Linked DNA regions of Homo sapiens: region 1 is linked to region 2. Evidence: promoter capture Hi-C in human tissues and cell types (Jung and others, 2019). All regions are on one chromosome and are shown on one strand. The core of a region is centred on a gene start or on the middle of the fragment in contact, and the rest is flanking DNA. Distances in the headings are between cores, read along the strand shown. Region 1 has its middle 38 kb from the start of SPATA31F1. Region 2 holds the start of CCL21 (C-C motif chemokine ligand 21).

Region 1 (5,939 bases), core at 3,327-5,826, 59 kb after region 2:
TTAGTGCTATAAATTTCCCTCTACACACTGCTTTGAATGTGTCCCAGAGATTCTGGTATGTTGTGTCTTTGTTCTCATTGGTTTCAAAGAACATCTTTATTTCTGCCTTCATTTCGTTATGTACCCAGTAGTCATTCAGGAGCAGGTTGTTCAGTTTCCATGTAGTTGAGAGGTTTTAAGTGAGTTTCTTAATCGTGAGTTCTAGTTTGATTGCACTGTGGTCTGAGAGACAGTTTGTTATAATTTCTGTTCTTTTACATTTGCTGAGGAGAGCTTTACTTCCAACTATGTGGTCAATTTTGGAATAGGTGTGGTGTGGTGCTGAAAAAAATGTATATTCTGTTGATTTGGGGTGGAGAGTTCTGTAGATGTCTATTAAGTCCGCTTGGTGCAGAGCTGAGTTCAATTCCTGGGTATCCTTGTTAACTTTCTGTCCCGTTGATCTGTCTAATGTTGACAGTGGGGTGTTAAAGTCTCCCATTATTATTGTGTGGGCGTCTAAGTCTCTTTGTAGGTCACTCAGGACTTGCTTTATGAATCTGGGTGCTCCTGTATTGGGTGCCTATATATTTAGGATAGTTAGCTCTTCTTGTTGAATTGATCCCTTTCCCATTATGTAATGGCCTTCTTTGTCTCTTTTGATCTTTGTTGGTTTAAAGTCTGTTTTATCAGAGACTAGGATTGCAACCCCTGCCTTTTTTTGTTTTCCATCTGCTTGGTAGATCTTCCTCCATCCTTTTATTTTGAGCCTATGTGTGTCTCTGCACGTGAGATGGGTTTCCTGAATACAGCACACTGATGGGTCTTGACTCTTTATCCAATTTGCCAGTCTGTGTCTTTTAATTGGAGCATTTAGCCCATTTACATTTAAAGTTAATATTGTTATGTGTGAATTTGAACCTGTTGTTATGATGTTAGCTGGTTATTTTGCTCGTTAGTTGATGCAGTTTCTTCCTAGCATCGATGGTCTTTACAATTTGGCATGATTTTGCAGTGGCTGGTACTGGTTGTTCCTTTCCATGTTTAGTGCTTCCTTCAGGAGCTCTTTTAGGGCATGCCTGGTGGTGACAAAATCTCTCAGCATTTGCTTGTCTGTAAAGTATTTTATTTCTCCTTCACTTATGAAGCTTAGTTTGGCTGGATATGAAATTCTGGGTTGAAAATTCTTTTCTTTAAGAATGTTGAATATTGGCCCCCACTCTCTTCTGGCTTGTAGAGTTTCTGCTGAGAGATCCGCTGTTAGTCTGATGGGCTTCCCTTTGTGGGTAACCTGACCTTTCTCTCTGGCTACCCTTAATATTTTTTCCTTCATTTCAACTTTGGTGAATCTGACAATTATATGTCTTAGAGTTGCTCTTCTCGAATGGTATCTTTGTGGTGTTCTCTGTATTTCCTGAATCTGAATGTTGGCCTGCCTTGCTAGATTGGAGAAGTTCTCCTGGATAATATCTTGCAGAGTGTTTTCCAACTTGGTTCCATTCTCCCCGTCACTTTCAGGTACACCAATCAGACATAGATTTGGTCTTTTCACATAGTCCCATATTTCTTGGAGGCTTTATTAGTTTCTTTTTATTCTTTTTTCTCTAAACTTCCCTTCTCGCTTCATTTCATTCATTTCATCTTCCATCACTGATACCTTTTCTTCCAGATGGTCTCATCAGCTCCTGAGGCTTCTGCATTCTTCACATAGTTCTCGAGCCTTGGCTTTCAGCTCCATCAGCTCCTTTAAGCACTTCTCTGTATTGGTTATTCTAGTTATACATTCGTCTAAATTTTTTGCAAAGTTTTTAACTCTTTGCCTTTGGTTTGAATTTCCTCCTGTAGCTCGGAGTAGTTTGAGCGTCTGAAGCCTTCTTCTCTCAACTCGTCAAAGTCATTCTCCGTCCAGCTTTGTTCCGTTGCTGGTGAGGAGCTGCATTCCTTTGGAGGAGGAGAGGTGCTCTGCTTTTTAGAGTTTCCAGTTTTTCTGCTCTGTTTTTTTCCCCATCTTTGCGGTTTTATCTACTTTTGGTCTTTGATGATGGTGATGTACAGATGGGTTTTTGGTGTGGATGTCCTTTCTGTTCGTTAGTTTTCCTTCTAACAGACAGGACCCTCAGCTGCAGGTCTGTTGGAGTTTGCTAGAGGTCCACTCCAGACCCTGTTTGCCTGTGTATCAGCAGTGGTGGCTGCAGATCAGTGGATTTTCGTGAACCGCGAATGCTGCTGTCTGATCGTTCCTCTGGAAGTTTTGTCTCAGAGGAGTACCCGGCCATGTGAGGTGTCAGTCTGCCCCTACTGGGGGGTGTCTCCCAGTTAGGCTGCTCGGGGGTCAGGGGTCAGGGACCCACTTGAGGAGGCAGTCTGCCCGTTCTCAGATCTCCAGCTGCATGCTGGCAGAACCACTGCTCTCTTCAAAGCTGTCAGACAAGGACATTTAAGTCTGCAGAGGTTACTGCTAACTTTTTGTTTGTCCGTGCCCTTCCCCCAGAGGTGGAGCCCACAGAGGCATGCAGGCCTCCTTGAGCTGTGGTGGGCTCCACCCAGTTCGAGCTTCCAGGCTGCTTTGTTTACCTAAGCAAGCCTGGGCAATGGCGGACGCCCCTCCCCCAGCCTCGCTGCTGCCTTGCAGTTTGATCTCAGACTGCTGTGCTAGCAATCAGCGAGACTCCGTGCGCGTAGGACCCTCCAAGCCAGGTGCGGGATATAGTCTTCTGGTGTGCCGTTTTTTAAGCCCGTCGGAAAGGCGCAGTATTAGGGTGGGAGTGACCCAATTTTCCAGGTGCCGTCTGTCACCCCTTTCTTTGACTAGGAAAGGGAACTCCCTGACCCCTTGCGCTTCCGGAGTGAGGCAATGCCTCGCCCTGCTTCGGCTCGCGCATGGTGCGCTGCACCCACTGTCCTGCGCCCACTGTCTGGCACTCCCTAGTGAGATGAACCGGGTACCTCAGATGGAAATGCAGAAATCACCCATCTTCTGCGTCGCTCACGCTGGGAGCTGTAGACCGGAGCTGTTCCTATTCGGCCATCTTGGCTGCCCCCATTGTCAGTTTTAAATGTAAATATCAGAGCACTTCACTTTCATGCGGTATCACTAACATTACAGAATTCATATTCTGGATGCGTGCACATCTACCGACACTATGGAAGTCAGTGGCTTCCATAATATGCTTACCTTGTACTCACTTTGAGTCTTGCTGAACTCAGACATTGGTCCACCAGAATTCTGTGTTCATGGGGCATTGCAAATGCTATATTTGAATGGTGACAGACATATTGCATCTATCTCCTCTGCTCATGCGCATACTACATTATTTCACTGGACATGGCTACAAATGACAAGTTCAAAGACAAAATTAGACTCTGCACTCCCAGAGCTTATTCTCTTTCAGAGGTTATGGGCAATGGGAAACACATTCAGGGATATTTTAGGGCTATCCCATGCAAGCTGTTTAAGAAGCTTGAATCTGGATCCGGCCAAAACCACAGACTACGGCTCAAATATGGGCCTCAGCAAGACCAGAGTCCTTCTTTTCTGGAAAGTTACAGCAAAGGGCACCTTATGCTATTCTGGGGTGTATGTAACTAGCATGGTAGTTGAGTGGTTTCTTTGGAATTAGACCTAGATTTGAATCTTACTTTTACCACTTTTTTTGTGACCTTGGGCAATTTTTTTCCCTTTCTGCATTTCAGACTTTTTAAAAAATCTGTAAAATGGAGCCAATAGTAATATCAACTTCACAGAATGCTTGTAGGATTAAATGGGATGTTGTAAATTAAATTTAGCACTGTGCCTGGCGTACGTTGGTGGCTATAATAGAAGAAAAGCTATGACAAAACACAAACCTAAGGAACACTCTCACTAAAGACTTCTTCTGGCCCCGCTACCTGCTTATCTTGCTCTTCATTGCCTTTGTTTGGTAGAGAGTGGAGTGAGCAACACAACTGGAAAACAGGAAGAAATTGAAAGCATTAAAAAATGGTAAAATGAAAGTAAAACTGTCACTATTGGAAAGTGGTATGACTGTATTCCTGAAAAACCCAAGGTAATCAACTAAAATTTACTACTACTAGTAGGTGGGGGGAGAGAGAGAGAGAGGGAGAGAGAGAGAGAATTCAGTCAGGTAGCAGAATATAAAAATTAATATGCAGAAATAAAAAACTTTTGTGTATACAAATGACAATTAGAAGATATATTGGAGAAGAAGGTCCCCTTTACAATAGCAACACAAGGAATAAATACCCAGAAACAAAATATGTAAAACCTTTTTGAGAAAAAAGGTAAATCATTTTCAAATATATAAATGCAATCCTTTTTTTGGAGACAGAATCTTGCTCTGTCACCCAGGCTGGAGTGCAGTGGCGCAGTCTTGGCTCACTGCAACTTCGCCTCCCAGGTTCAAGTGATTTTCCTGCCTCAGCCTCCCTAGTAGCTGGGATTACAGGCACCCAACACCACGCCTGGCTAATTTTTGTATTTTTACAAAATGCAAAATAGGGTTTCACCATGTTGGCCAGGCTGGTCTTGAACTCCTGACCTCAGGTGATCCGCCTGCCTCGGCCTCCCAAAGTGCTGGGATTACAGGCATGAGCCACCATGCCTGGCCATAAATGCAATCTTGAACAAATAGATATACCATATTCTAAGGGATAGAAAGACTCAACAATTCTTCCCAAGGTAATTTATAAACTAATGTGATCCCAACAAAAATGCCAATAGATTTCTCTGGTTAGGGGGCCCAATTAGACAAGCTGATTCTAAATTTATGGTTGAAGGTAAGCAAAAATATCCAGGAAAACTCTTAAAAGAAAGAACTATGATAGCACTGAGATTAGTGCTGTCAGTTAATAAGAGACTATATAGTCTTAATAATTAAAACAGTATGGTACTTATGCATAAACTGACAGACAAACAGAGCAGAACAAAATATCCAGGAATAGAGCATGTATGTATTAGTATACGAGAGAGGTAGCATCTCAAATCAGTAGAATAAACATATATCTTTTGAATAAATGGTTTTAGGACAACTGGCTTGCCTTCTTGAAAAAGATAGGCAAATTCATAGGTTGTATCATATACTTGGGTTAACTTCAAATTAATAGAGGATTTAATTTGAAAAAATCATATATAAATAGTGCTTACATGAAAATAGTAGAAGAATACATGGAATGATTCTTTTAGAACCTTATTGAGAGGAAAGACTTTTTAGTTAAGACAATGAAACCATAAAATAAAGGATTAATTTATTCTACTACATAGAATAAATATAGTGTGTTTTGCATAGTATAACACACTATAAGCAAAGCCAAAAGACAAACTACAACCTGAAAAAGTTGCAAACCTTATTAGACAAAACACTGATTTGCCTTATATGTAAAGAGTACCCAATGATCCAACAGAAAAATTGGCAAATGACATAAACAGTCCACAGAAAAAGAAATACTAATGACCCCTAAAGACATGAAAAGATGGTCAAACTTATAAGATAGATGCAAATTAAAATCACACCTTTTTTCTCACAGCAGATTGACAAAATTCAAAAGTTTCATGGCACACTCTTTTGGCAAGATGAGGAGCTACTGCAATCTCACACTTCATTGGTGAGAGTGCAAAATAGTACAATTCCTGTGGAGAAAAATTTTAGAAGTATTTATTATTAATTTCAAATATATTTTCCTTTTGACCCAATAATCCCAATTCTGATAATTATTCTCACATTTAAGTCTGTCTTGACAACAGCTTTTCAGAGGACCCAAATTAACACATACCCTTTGTGTGTGAAAGGTGGGAAAAATAAGAATATATTCATATTTGCCTATATTTTATACAAAAAAACACCAGAAAGATATAGAAGAAAAGAAGTTAGGGGAAGCAATAGAAACGGGATGGCGGTATGGGTTAGGTGGAGAAAGGGAAGAGGGCAACACTTTTGAAACCGTGTGAGTGTATTATCTATGCA
Region 2 (5,583 bases), core at 2,203-4,702:
AGGAGAATTTAGTGAAATAGAGAGTTTTGTTTTTTCTGCCTATGTTTTTCTTTTCACTATAGAGTAGGCAAGAGTTTTGGCAGGGCTGGGAGTGATGTCCTGATGTCAAAGGGAGCCTGACGTCAAAGGCCTTTTGTAAATGTCTTACACCAGGGGAAAATGCCGGGCATAGAGGCTCACACCTGTAATCCCAGCAACTTGGAGCCTGAGGCAGGAGGATCCCTTGAGCCCAGGAGTTTGAGGTTACAGTGAGCTATGATCCTACCTTTGCACTCCAGCCTGGACTACAAAGCAAGCCTTAAAAAAAAAAAAAAGTAAACTTGTAAACTTGGGGAAGAGGTTATGCCCTGGAGGGGCTGAGGAGAGGGAGACAATTGTTTAGGACTGCGAAGGGATTAGTGTGTACATCCAGCCAGAGTGGGCACTGGGCTCTAATTTCTGTCTGTGATGGGGCAAGTGACAGGACTGTTGAGTAGATGGCTTCGGGGGTATCTGGGGAGGTCAAGTCCAAGCCCAGAGGCTGTCATATCTGAATTCTTATGTCTCAAATGTGGAGTCTAGGACTTGAAGAGATATACCTGCTGGAACCACAGGGGTCAGAACACTCACTGGCGAGACTGATGTCCAATGATAGGATGGTGTAGGAGGCAGGTAGGAGGCCTCCCTTGGGCCTTGAGGTTTCTGTGACCTTTGCATAACCCTTGGCAGGTGGGATCCCACAAGAGTGCCTGATGTTGAATTTCTCATCAGCACTCTAGTGCAGTAGCTTGGAGTAGGAATTAAGTTCATTTAAGGAACATTTCAAAAGTAGTATTTCTTGCATATCTGAGTTTATAGATTAATTTCACACCTGCTGCCCTAGGACAGGCAGGGGAGAGGCCCTGTCTTCACCTGCTGCAAGAGGAGCAGACAAGCCAATACTTGAGGATGTTAGGATAGGTGGTAAGTGCTGTGGCATACTCAGGCTCCTACAGAAGGAAAAGTTGATGGAGCAGCCACTTCTAGCTTCTGAGGTTCCTACCTTTCTTCTTCTTCTTCTCCTCCTTTTTTTTTCTTTTCCTGAAATGGAGTCTTGCTCTTGTCGCCCAGACTGGAGTGCAATGGCACAATCGATCTCACCTCACTGCAACCTCCGCCTCCTGGGTTCAAGTGATTCTCCTTCCTCAGCCTCCCGAGTAGCTGGGATTACAGGCGCCCGCCACAATGCCCGGCTAATTTTTGTATTTTTAGTAGAGACGGGGTTTCACCATGTTGGCCAGGCTGGTCAGGAACTCCTGACCTCATGATCCGCCTGCCTTGGCCTCCCAAAGTGCTGGGATTACAGGCCTGAGCCACCGCGCCCGGCCTTGAGGTTCCTACCTTTCTTGCCCTTCCCCAGGATCTGTTCCCTTCTTTCTCACATTGTCTGGCCCAATCTGATGGCTTCTACTCTCCCCGCCTGGAGGTGATTTGGGGAATAGAAGGGTCTTCACTCTGGGGAGGAAGAGGTAGAGGAGAGCCATCTGAGGCCTTCCAGGAGAGGAGACTGATTCACACCTGAATCCTGGGGTTCTGAAAACCTGCCCCAGGAGACTTATTCCTTGACTTCAAAGGGTTAAATGGGCTAAAGTAGTCTGGATCCCAGCCAGGAAAGAAAGGAGGAAAAAAAAAGGGAGGAGGTTTTTCCATCTGGAAGGAGGCTGAGTGAGTCCAGGGGCCCAGATAGGAATAGAAGGAGAGCACAACAGCCCCATTAAACAAAGAGGAGAGGTCAAGGCCCGAGCTTCACTGAATAGGGCTGAAGCAAGTCCCCTCGGGTCTTTGCCTCCCAGGGGCTCTCTCAGGGCTGGAACTGTGCTAGGGCAGGTTTCAATATAACTTGTGTTTGTCTGTGTTATAGATGGGCCCAAGCCACAGCTTCCCTCCTAGGGACCCTTCCAAAGAACCACTTGGAGGGTCTCATTGAATAGTTCCCAGGGAAAAGAGAGGAAGCCTCTGGGATATCTGGGGAAAGGTCTGAAGGTCATGGAAAAGATCCGAAGGTCACCCCTGGAGTTAGTGCAGGACAGAATCAGGGTCTCAGAGGTCTGCAGAGCTGTTGGGGGTGTGTGCTCCATGTCCACCACCTCTCCATTGGCAGGATGCCTCAGAAGACTGGGTCCTACCCTGTCCTTCAGCCTCCCTTTAACTGCTCAGGGGTGCAGGCACCTGAGAGGCAAGGAAACTCTTGGGGTAGATGAGAACATAGCATTTTTCAGCCTGAGCTTTCGGCTCAGAGTGTGTGACCCCACCCTGTAGGAACCTTGGCATCTCGGTGGACATAAACACATGGGAACAGGTACTTGGGTGGGAAGACAGAACAGCTTTTTATTCAGTTAGGTATAAATCATATTTACAAGGAAGAGGTGGGGTGTACTGGGGAGCCGTATCAGGTCCAGGGTCCTGATGATTCTCCTTCAAGGGGACAGTCCTGCTGCCTCCTCTCATGCTCCCTGGGAGACTCTCCCTCCTCGGTCTCTCTGGACCTGGCCTGCTGTGGGCAGCTCAGCCATGCAGGGTAGAGCTGGGAATGCAGATGGGGTGGTTAAAGCAGGAGAAAGAGTGTGGCAAGGCCAGCATGGGGTGGCTGCTCCAGGGCCCCTGAGCATAGCCTCCTTCTTGCATCTTGGGTTCAGGCTTCAAGCGCTGGTGAGGCTGGTGGGGTCTCCAGGGCTCCAGGCTGCTCACTGGGCTATGGCCCTTTAGGGGTCTGTGACCGCTCAGTCCTGTGAGGGCAGAAGAGGGGTGTGAGGGGCTGACTGAGGCTCCCCTTTACCCACATCCCTCAGATTCCTCACCTCTTGCAGCCTTTGGAGCCCTTTCCTTTCTTGCCAGTCTTGGAGGCCCCCCTGTCCTTCCTGCAGCCCTGGGCTGGTTTCTGTGGGGATGGTGTCTTGTCCAGATGCTGCATCAGCTGCTGCACCCAGAGCTCCTTTGGGTCTGCACATAGCTCTGCCTGAGAGCGCTTGCGGGGCAAGAACCTGCGGGTGGGGGCTAGTAAGCCTTCTTAGTCTTGCCCACCATGCCCTCCCCACCCCGTCACCAGCCAGTACCCACCCCTTTGTGTCCACTCACAGGATAGCTGGGATGGAGCAGCCTAAGCTTGGTTCCTGCTTCCGGTAGCTGCGGACAACCTTGGCGGGAATCTTCCTTTGGCTGTACTTGAGGCAACAGTCCTGAGCCCCTCCATCACTGCCTGCAGGGTGGGATTCACAGGGAGCCAGGGGCTGCTGGCAAGCTCCTATCCAGGCCTCTTGATCCCCTTAGCCCCATGCAAGGCCCCTCCCTGCCTTGGTACCTTGGGTCCTGGGGATGCCAAAGGCCAGAACCAGGATAAGGAGGCTCAGAGCCAGTGACTGAGCCATGTCTGTGGTAGAGGGTGAGTAAGAGGCCAGAGCTGAGGGTGAGGTGGGCAGCTGCAAGTTGGGGGTCTGTGCGTGGGCTGGGATTGGCCTGCTATTTATGTAGCTAGACACTTTCACTTCCCTTAACTTATCCCCACTCCTTTTCCTTCCTGAAAGCTGGATTTGCTGGCACCCAGCCCCACTTATCTCAAACTAAGTGGACAGTCCTCAGCTGCCAAATTTTATGTCCTCATTAGTTGAATATGTCTGGGCCTGAGCCTTCCTTCTATTCCCAGCTACTGCTTTCATGCAGGCCTCACTGCCTCTCCCCTGGAACACCATGACTGTCTCCTCACTACGCTCCAGGATCCATACCCTTCCCCTCCTTCCAGCAAATCTGATTATTAAATTGTAAGAGTTCTTTTTTTTTTTTTTTTTTTTGAGACAGGGTCTAACTCTGTCACCCAGGCTGGAGTGCAGTGGTTGATCTTGGCTCACTGAAATCTCCGCCTCCTGGGCTCGAGTGATCCTCCTACCTCAACCTCCCCAGGAGCTGGGACTACAGGCAAGCACCACTGCGCCTGGCTGATTTTTCTATTTTTTTTTTGTAGAGACGAGGTTTCACGATGTCTAGCCCAGGCTAGTCTTGAGCTCCTGGGCTCAAATGATCTGCCTGCCTCAGCCTCTTGAGGAGCTGGGACCACAGGCACATGCCACTACGTCCGGCTACTGTTTTCATTTTTCATTTTTATTTTTTCTAGAGATGAGGTCTTGCTATGTTGCCCAGTCTGGTCTTGAACTCCTGGGCTCAAGCGATCCTCCTGCCTTGGCCACCCAAAGTGCTGGAATTATAGGTATGAGCGACTGCACCTGGTCTGTAGCATAACCATTTTGATTCCCCTTTGCTTTCCTTTTCTATATATTTTGTAGTTATTTTCCTAATGGATACCTTGGTGATTATAATTAACATTCTAAACTGATAACAACCTAGTTTGAATAATACCAACTTAGTTTCAATGGTATATAAACATTTTGCTCGTATACATTTTAGTCCCTTCTTTATATTGTTATTGTCACAGATTACATCTTTATACATTGTGTTCCCATTGACATAGATTTATAATTATTGTTTAATGCATTTTCCTTTTAAATTATATAGAAAAAAGTGGGGCTACAAACTAAAAATACAATACTAGCTTTTATCTTTTTTTTTTTTTTTGACACAGGGTCTCGCTTTGTCACCCAGGCTGGAGTGCGGTGGCACAATCTCAGCTCACAGCAGCCTCGACCTCCTGGGCTCAAGTGATCCTTCCACCTCAGTCTCCTGAGTAGTGGGGCCACCATGCCTGGCTAATTTTTGTATTTTTTGTAGACACGAGGTCTCACTATGTTGCCCAGGCTAGTCTCGAACGCCTGACCTCAAGCAATTCACCCGCCTTGGCCTCCCAAAGTAATGGGATTACAAGTGTGAACCAGCATACCTGGCAATGTTGTTACTTTTTTTTTTTTTTTTTTGAGACAGAGTCTCACTCTTTCGCCCAGGCTGGAGTGCAGTGGCGTGATCTTGGCTCACTGCAACCTCCACCCTCCGGGTTCAAGCCATTCTCCTGCCTCAGCCTCCCGAGTAACTGGGATTATGGGCACCTGTCACCACATCCAGCTAATTTTTCTATTTTTTGTAGAGATGGGGTTTCACCATGTTGGCCTGGTTGGTCTCAAACTCCTGACCTCAAATGATCCGCTCACCTTGGCCTCCCAAAGTGCTGGGATTACAGACATGAGCCACTGCGCCCAGCCTGCTATGTTGTTATGTTTATCAGAGATCTTTGTTTCTTTGTGTGGCTGTGAGTTATTATTTTTTGTCCTTTTGTTTCATTCTGAAGGTCTTCCTTTAGCATTTGTTTGTTTGTTTGTTTGTTTTTTCTTTCTCCCGTTAGCTTTTCTTGTGGGCAGGTCTACTATTAATGAACTTCCTAAGTTTTGTTTATCTGGAAATGTCTTATTTCTCCTTAATTCTTGCAGCATAGTTTTGCTGGATATATAGAATTCTTGTTTGACTTTTTTTTTTCTTCAGTCTTTAAATATATCCCCCATTGTCTTTTGGCCTCCCATGGTTTCTGAAATCAGCTGGTAATCTTATTGAGAATCTCTTGTACATAATGAGTTACTTCTCTCTTGCTGCTTTTAAAATCTTTGGGTTTCAACAATTTGACTATAATTT

What was found. Contacts are between HindIII fragments. The study calls those that stand out against the background at their distance.
Region 1: a contact is called between a fragment that was not itself captured here and the fragment with the promoter of CCL21 in region 2, in 1 of the 25 tissues and cell types used here (pancreas).

What each region holds. Positions count from the first base shown.
Region 1 is chr9:34,764,835-34,770,773 of GRCh38, forward strand. It overlaps a transcript of PHF24 not described here. Among named protein-coding and RNA genes, the nearest start is that of SPATA31F1, 38 kb to the left of the region's middle. RefSeq lists an enhancer at 2,117-2,619. The HindIII fragment of the contact is 8,791 bases long and covers 182-5,939 here.
Region 2 is chr9:34,706,684-34,712,266 of GRCh38, forward strand. CCL21 (C-C motif chemokine ligand 21) reads right to left here and starts at 3,453. Exons shown (of 4, transcript NM_002989.4): 1 at 3,317-3,453; 2 at 3,094-3,214; 3 at 2,817-2,999; 4 at 2,322-2,744. The coding sequence starts at 3,383. The coding sequence ends at 2,711. It also overlaps a transcript of PHF24 not described here. The HindIII fragment of the contact is 9,492 bases long and covers 1-5,583 here.